Regions from separate parts of the Homo sapiens genome. Here region 1 is linked to region 2. Evidence: promoter capture Hi-C in 16 types of primary human blood cells and fetal thymus (Javierre and others, 2016). All regions are on one chromosome and are shown on one strand. Each heading gives the region's core, a stretch centred on a gene start or on the middle of the fragment in contact. The rest is flanking DNA. Distances are from core to core; before and after follow the strand shown.

What was found. The method cuts DNA at HindIII sites, captures the fragments that hold promoters and counts their contacts. A CHiCAGO score of 5 or more calls a contact.
Region 1: a fragment that was not itself captured here is called in contact with the fragment with the promoter of PPIF in region 2 in 1 of 17 cell types (M1 macrophages); the score reaches 5.1 in M1 macrophages.

Annotation. Positions count from the first base shown.
Region 1 is chr10:79,490,527-79,494,329 of GRCh38, forward strand. No RefSeq gene overlaps it. Among named protein-coding and RNA genes, the nearest start is that of EIF5AL1, 20 kb to the right of the region's middle. RefSeq lists a cis regulatory region at 554-1,054. The HindIII fragment of the contact is 2,957 bases long and covers 690-3,646 here.
Region 2 is chr10:79,345,567-79,349,391 of GRCh38, forward strand. PPIF (peptidylprolyl isomerase F) reads left to right here and starts at 1,903. Exons shown (of 6, transcript NM_005729.4): 1 at 1,903-2,177; 2 at 3,510-3,540. The coding sequence starts at 1,983. RefSeq lists cis regulatory regions at 1,570-2,147, 1,647-2,688, 1,647-2,320, 1,647-2,198, 1,647-2,197 and 5 more, silencers at 1,677-2,086, 2,107-2,336 and an enhancer at 3,651-3,825. The HindIII fragment of the contact is 8,142 bases long and covers 1,528-3,825 here.

The DNA.
Region 1 (3,803 bases), core at 918-3,417, 150 kb after region 2:
GACTCAGAGAAGTCTGCAGAGCTAATCCTGGGGCTGCTGGCGAGGCCAGGCCAGGGCCTTAGAAGTGGCTTTCAAGAGGTCCTCTCCTGCCTGCCGGCAGCGTGTGGCTCAGCTCGAATTTCCGAGGCCCCCAACTCAGGAACAGCTGCGTGGCTTCCCCTCTCCTCCCTCTGTTCCCTCCTTTCTTCCCCATACATGAGTCAAAGAGACAGCCAGGCAGGGCTAGCCAGGGGTCTGGACAGAATCCAGAAGTCTCCAGCCACTCAACCCTGGTCTCTCTGAAGCCTGGGGAGCTCAGACACCTGGGGTTTCTTGGGCCTTTCAACTCCAGACATATTCCTGCTGCTCTTCATTTGGCCAAAAACCTCTGGCCCAGCTTTGATGTTTGCCTTTTTGTCCACCCCTTGGTTCTCTGGCTGGGCAGGCTTCCTGGGACACCTTCTACCCAGTGTGGTGGGGCGGGACCTGCCTTGGGGTGGAGCCTCCTAGTTTGGTAGTACGCCCACCCACAAGCCTTCCCAGCCTCCTCCTTCCCCCAGGTCCCTAAATGTCCCTTCCAACTGCCTCCCAGAGCAACAACCTCTGACTCTCCTTTCCATGTCCCTATCAACATCTCCACACCCACCCCAGGGAAAGGCGAGAGAGAGAGTGTGTGTGTGTGTTACACGTGTAATGCTTGTTACATGAAAAGCTTGTTTGGTTATATCCTTAACTATCTTGCTGGGTTTTTTTTGACAAATAAGGAAACAAGAGCCAGACAGGGTGGGAAATTTGACTGGTTCACAGAAAGAGGAAATGGTAAAGCCAGGATTTAAACCCAGTTGTGATGATTCTGAGCCCATGCTCTTTCTTCACGCCACCATGTGGCCTGGAAAAGACCTGCCACACACCTGCCCAGGAGCATGCAGGGAGTGAGTGATTCACCCCCTGCCCCAGATACAAGCGGCCCATGACCAGGGACTCAGGCCACTTCCACAGAACACGCTTGGTCCAGAGTGACAGTGAGGAGAGAATGACTTGGCTGGTGCAGGAGACCCCCATGCTAGTTCCTCTTGGTGATGGGTCCCCAGGGTGAGGCATGAATCTGCTCCCGCTGGGCCTCCAGTCTCCCTCACAGTACAAGTTCATTTAGGTGCTGGGAGTGACCCTGGGGGAACAGATGGTGCTGCATGATCATACATGATCCTGAAACACAAGCCAGCTACTCCTTCTGGTGTCCACCAAAGAAACAGGGATCCAAGCCAAGCTGGGGGGAAAATCTGCCCTTGCAGGTTTACTGAGGGACTGTATGGGGAATTCTACTAGGTGTCTCCTAAGATACTTTTTTTTTGAGACAAGGTCTCTGTCTGTCACCCAGGCTGGAATGCAGTGGTGTGATCTCAGGTCACTGCAGCCTCAAACTACTGGGCTTAAGCAATCCACCCATTTCAGCCTCCTGAGTAGCTGGGACTACAGGTGGGTACCAACATGGCTGGCTAATTTTTGTATTTTTTGTGGAGTTGGGGTTTCAACATGTTTCCCAGGATGGTCTTGAACTCCTGAGCCCAAGCATCATGCCCACCTCGGCCTCCCACAGTGCTGGGATGACAGGCCTGAGCAGCCGGCCCAAAGATACCTTCAGGGGAAAGACTGACTCTACACAGTCCCAACCTTGGGATGATAAACTAACCCCAAACATGGAGTAGTAGGTGGCCCCTTACTCCCAGCAAGTCCTTCTCTAATGGTGAGATTCCAGGACAGGGGAGAAGTCTAGGGAGAGAGACTGGGGACATGCGGCCTTCCGGGACCTCAGTCTCACACCACCGGGTCCTGGGCTCCCTGTTGTCTCTTATCAATCTAGGTTTCCAGCGTGGTGCAGTGAAGGAGTGTGTGACCCAGGCCCCAGCCGCACTCTGCAATGACACCATGGGCAAGTCCCTTAAACCCGCTCCAGACCTCAGTTTCCTCATCTGTCAGCTGAGACTACTGGACAAATGACCAGATGAAGTTCTAGAGCCCTGGAGGACTCTGTCTGGGCTGGAGACAGCTCAAGACCCTGCCCAGGAAGCAGAATGGCTTCTAGTGCTGGCTACATCTGGCCTGAGGCTGCTTGCTTATGGTTTGGGACTGGTTACCAGATCTGCTTCCAGGGATGGTGTCATCGCCTCATTTTATAGGTGAGAAAAACCCCTTTGTTTCCCGAGGGTCCTGTGCAGCCTTCCCTGCCCCTCCAGCTCCTACTACCTCTACCTTCTGTCTGTCCCTCTGTTCTGAAGCTCCTGTGTTCTGTCCTTGTCCTACTCAGGCCTGCTCTTCTCTGAGGCCACAGGCTCAGGGCTCTGCAGGCCTCTTCATCATGTCCCAGGAGCCCCAACCCTCAAACAACTGCCCATTTCCCTTTCCTCTGTGTCAAAACTCCATGTTTCGGCCTGCAATTGTCACAGGCCCAATGGACCTTTCACACCAGCTGGCTGAGCTTGAACAGGTCACTTGAGCCCAGAGCCTGGACACGTGTGAAACAAAGACTGCAATAATCTCACAGTGACTGGAGCAGCTGTCTCACACTGGGTGCTTACTGAGACAGGCTGGACACCATGTCCTCACCATCAGCCCATGAAATGAGAGCCATCTCTCTCCCATGTCGAGCTTGAGAATGTGCCTGCCTGACAGAGGTGTAGGACTGCCTCAGCAAGGGCATAGTATACAATAGGTGCTTAATAAATGGGGACAATTGTGTTAAGATTTGTGGAACCCCAGGGGCAGTGGCTCAGCATCAGGTGGTTTAAAAACCCTCTGCCAGGTCAAGGCTGGCCTGGAATTGAAGGAGGATAGCAGAGGAGGGTGTTTGGTGGGCCCTGCAGTGGGAAGCTAGAGGTGGCCAAGGCTGGGGAGGTGGGCGGTGCAGGTACCCTGCGCCTACTGCATTAGCCCCATTTTTAAAAATTGAGATCACATTACAAATAATTAGCCATTTGATGAGTGGCATTTAGTATATTGACACTGCTGTCAACCTCTGTGCAACCTCTATTTAGTTCCAAAACGTTTTTCACCACCTGAAAAGGAAACCGCAGAGGCATTAAGCAGTCACTCCCCATTCTCCTGTCCCCACAGCCCCTGGCCATTGCTCAATCTGTTTTCTATCTCTATGGATTTACCTGTTCTAGGTGTTTCATACACATGGAATCACACACTACATGACTTCTTGAGTCCGGCTTCTTACACGTAGCGTCGCATTTTCAAGGTTCCTCCTTGTAGCCCAGGTCAGTACTTCATTCCTTTTTATGGCTGAATAACATGTCATTGTATGGACAGACCACATCTTGTTTGTCCATTCATCCACTGATGGACATTTGGGCTGTTCCATCGTGGGCTCCTTTTTGAAGTGAAAGTCATTGAAAGCCTGGAGTAAGTCCTGCTATCACCACTCACCCCTTGGGAGGAGGCACAGCCCCATCCAGAGTCCTCTTCCCATAAAGTGTCCTCTCCTGGCAGCTTCTGTGGCTGCCATGGTGCTCACTGGAGCAGCTGCTGGACAGGGAAGTGGAGAGCACTTACAAGTTGCTTTGCTTTTATTCAGATCTCATGGACAAGGACAGTGGGAGAAGAGGATGGGAAGAGAACAGGAAGGTGGAGGGAGAGGGATGGGGTGAGGATGATCTCCCACAGAAGCTTCTGGAAACTCCTGGCTAGTGACTGGAGTCCAACAAGGCACAAAGCCTAGTTGTGCTCAAGTCTCACTGAAGCCTACCTGAGCTTCATCAACTGGACAGGGCTTGGCTTTTCCAGGTGGGGAAACTGAGTCCCAGGGAGCAGCAGTGGCTTCC
Region 2 (3,825 bases), core at 653-3,152:
GCAGAGTTCACAGCTGGGAAAGGGTTCTGAGAACTGAAGTGGTCAAGTGAATGAAGGCAGCACTCCCCTGGGGTGGGGATGCTCATGCTTCATCAGGATGGGGCATAAACTGAGTCCCCCCAGGAGCAGGCTTGAGAAACAACAGGGTACGCTGAGCTACCTGCTGTGGCTGAAGGTCCTGTGAGCTCAGGGCCTGGAACTGGCCGCAGGGAAGCCTGGGGCCTTAAGGAAGCTTCATGACAAGGCACATGGCGTGATTCCTCCACTCTCAAATCCACAGGATGCACTGGTAGAGGAAGGTCTGGGACATGTGCTGAGGGCTCAAGTGGGCTCCCCACTCAGGCCTGCTCACCTCAGGGCACAATCATAAGAAAGGAGGGGCTGCTCCCCAGGGCAGAGTGAGGCCCCATTCTGGGCTGGGACCTGGAATGCATCCCACCTGGGCTTCACTGGGTGCCTAGGCCCCTCCTAGGCCAGGAATCGGAGAAGGGGGCTATGAACTTCCAGAAGCCAAGCTAGCCAAACTTCCAGAGGCCAAGCTAGCATTCTTATGAAGCTAGGGCACTGCTCTGACCTCATGAATTTGCTTGGCTGGCATTTTGCTGCCTGACCTGTTCCCATGAGCCCATTCAGGATCTGGGGCAGGTCAGTCCAGAGCTGGTCCCTACTCCTGCCCACCTGCCTCCAAGGCTCAGCCCCACCCCTTTCTCTGACCCCTCAGGCCTCTAACTGAGACCGCAGCTCTCTGAATCCCAAACTGTGAGAAAGACAGTCCAGACTCTGTCCATCACAGATGCCCACAGGCACAGTACTTAGTTGACAAATCCATGTCTCTCTCGTTCATTTTATCCTAAGAACAGACACGAGAAAAAAGCAGGATGAGGAGCATGATCGCACCCTTACCCTCCAGATGGGAAACTGAGGCCCAGAGAGGCCTGGAGCACTGGTGCAAGCTGGTAGCAATACTCCAGGGCTCCCTAGCCCTAGCCAGTGCCTTCCTGTGTCCAGGCCTCAGCTTCCCCTGGGGACAGTACAAGTGTTGGGCCAGATGCTCTCTCAGGTCCCTGCGTGGCATCCATTTATTGCAGACCTCCCACCACCTTGCAGTGAGGGTGGCTCTGGCTGCTGGGAAGCCCACTTTCAGCACGTGGGGTTTAAATGCTCCTGCTGTGGGTCTCCCCACTGAGTCCCCTCCCAGGGTGCATGCTGATGGGAGGGGGCAGCTGGCAGTCTGCCCCGGGGCTGTCAGTGTGGGTCCTAGGAGGAGGGATCAGACCCAGTCCTGGGGAGGGCTGGGGGCCTGAAAGGAGCATGATGAGCCCAGGCTGCGTTTTCAGTCTTGCTAGAAGCAGGTCTGGTCCCCAGAAACAACTAGAGACAGGCCCAGGCCGGGACAAGCAGGCTAGGGGGCATCATGGGAGGTGTCTCAGCTTATCTCCTCCCTCTTGCGCCTCTAGCTCACTAATCCCGCCTCTCATCTCACCTTTCTCTAACCCTCTCAGACTGCAGGACCTAGGGCAGCAGGGAAGCTTATTTGGCCTGAGCCTTACCTGCAAAGGGCTCAAAGGTAGACTTTTGCTATTATATTCAAATTGCAACGTATAGATGCTCATATTTTGGAATTAATTACGTTTTAGCAGTTTTTCTTTTTTTAAAAAAATCTGCTGGTACCTTAATAAACATGGAACCAGCAACCTTTTGCCAGGTGTCTGTTCTCCGGGTCTCTGGGCCTGGAGGCGGGAGTGTTTCAAAGCACTTCACGCTCCGCGGCCCCACCGGCTGGCTGCGCTGCCCGCTGCGGCCGGCAGGGGTAGTCCACGGACAGGCCTGGAGGAGGCGGGACGGGGGCAGGGCCGGGAACCTGGGCAAGCCAATAAAGGCTGCGGCGCGCGGCTGCGCGGGACTCGGCCTTCTGGGCGCGCGCGACGTCAGTTTGAGTTCTGTGTTCTCCCCGCCCGTGTCCCGCCCGACCCGCGCCCGCGATGCTGGCGCTGCGCTGCGGCTCCCGCTGGCTCGGCCTGCTCTCCGTCCCGCGCTCCGTGCCGCTGCGCCTCCCCGCGGCCCGCGCCTGCAGCAAGGGCTCCGGCGACCCGTCCTCTTCCTCCTCCTCCGGGAACCCGCTCGTGTACCTGGACGTGGACGCCAACGGGAAGCCGCTCGGCCGCGTGGTGCTGGAGGTGAGACCGCTCGCAGGGCCGGCCTGGGCGCGGGACACGGGCCCGGGGAGAGCCCTGGGCCCCGGGCGGCGCGGTGCCGGGCGCGCTGGGTGACCTTGGGCCTCCCCATGCCGAGCTCTGGGCCTCAGTTTCCCCATTTCTGAGAATGGGCGTCAGAATGATTTCTTCCGGCCTCCCTCGGAGCACTGGAGCGGGGGAGACGGGAGGGAGGGCACGTGTGGAGGAGAAAGCTCAAGGTCAGATCGCAGAGAGGGAGGGCTCAGCACCTCTGGGCCGGCCCGGGCACGAGGGAGGGGCTCCAGGAGCCTTCTGGGGCTGAGCCTAGATCCGGAGCTCCGAGGTGGGTGTCGGGGGTCTTGGGGTGAGCGTCGTGGCCCAGCGGGTGCTCACGTGGCGGCCCTTGCACAACACGGAGCGCTTCCTGGCTCCGGCCCCGCCCCTGCGGTCGGGCTCACACTGGGGGTGCTGGGAAATGGAGCGAGAGGTGGTTTCCAGCAGTAGTGCGGGCCCAGTAGGCCTCAGGCCCCGGCCACCTGGTGGACCCCAGAATGCCCCTCCTGCGAGTCGGGACACACTCAGAGACAGTGTGCCCGGCGCCTCAACCCCTGCCACTGTCCTTGGGGGCCACACTGAGCACCTCCCCTAACTCTGTTTTTGGGTCTTTTCTAAAGCAAAGTAAGAAACAGTCACCAGGGTAGCTTTAGAGGGAAAGCCCTAGTGGAGCCTTCAGGTCGGCCACACATTGACAGCAGGGGTCTGTTTGTGTTGACTGGCCCGTATCCCAGGGAGCCCTTAGTATTTCTTCTTCATTCTCAGTTTCTTCTGGAAAATAGGGACACCCTTCCTGCTTCCATTTGGTTCCAGGGTGGGTCTTGCAGCTTCGAGGGTAGAGGCTGGCTGGGATGGGGCTTCAGCCTTCCCTCCCCACACCCTCATGCCTCTCCCTGGGCCTCAGTTTCCCAACCCCGAATGGAGGAGCTGGTCTGGCTTCTACCTTAGACACACTCTCTTGTCCCTGAATTTCTGATGCTTTGGGCCCAGCTGTGGGAGCACTGCCAGCTGTGTCCACAGAAGTAGGCCAAGATAGCATTGTCATCTCTTCTGACAGATTAGGAAACCAAGGCCACCTCCTCCAGCCTTGGGTTCAGGAAACGGCTCCCAGAAATGATAGAGCTGCCTCCCATGGGGGTTGGCAATAATGGGAATGGAATGTCCACGTGCTTCTTCCTTAGCCTCCTTGGCCACTGTGGGGGTGGGTGGGTGCTGAGAGACACCCACCTTCACCTGCCTCTCCAATGACCATCCTCTTTTGTCCTTCTTCTCCCCCAACAGCTGAAGGCAGATGTCGTCCCAAAGACAGCTGGTAAGACAGGGCCTGGGGCCTTCTGAGATGGGTCTAGAGGGAAGGGGGCCAGGCAGGGCAAGGTGGGTGGCGTGATGAGAAGAGTCGGGGCTCAGAGACCCCTGACAGATGGGAGCTCCATGTGTGGCTCAGCCATTGGGTGCTCTGGGGCAGCCCTGCCATCCCTCTCTGGGCCTCAACGTTGGCTCTGCCCTCCTCTCTCATAGTAGCTGGGAGCCTCAGAGCCAGTGGAAGGCACATGTAAATTTCCCGGAGACTTCCCCACTCCTGGTGCCCAGTGAGGCA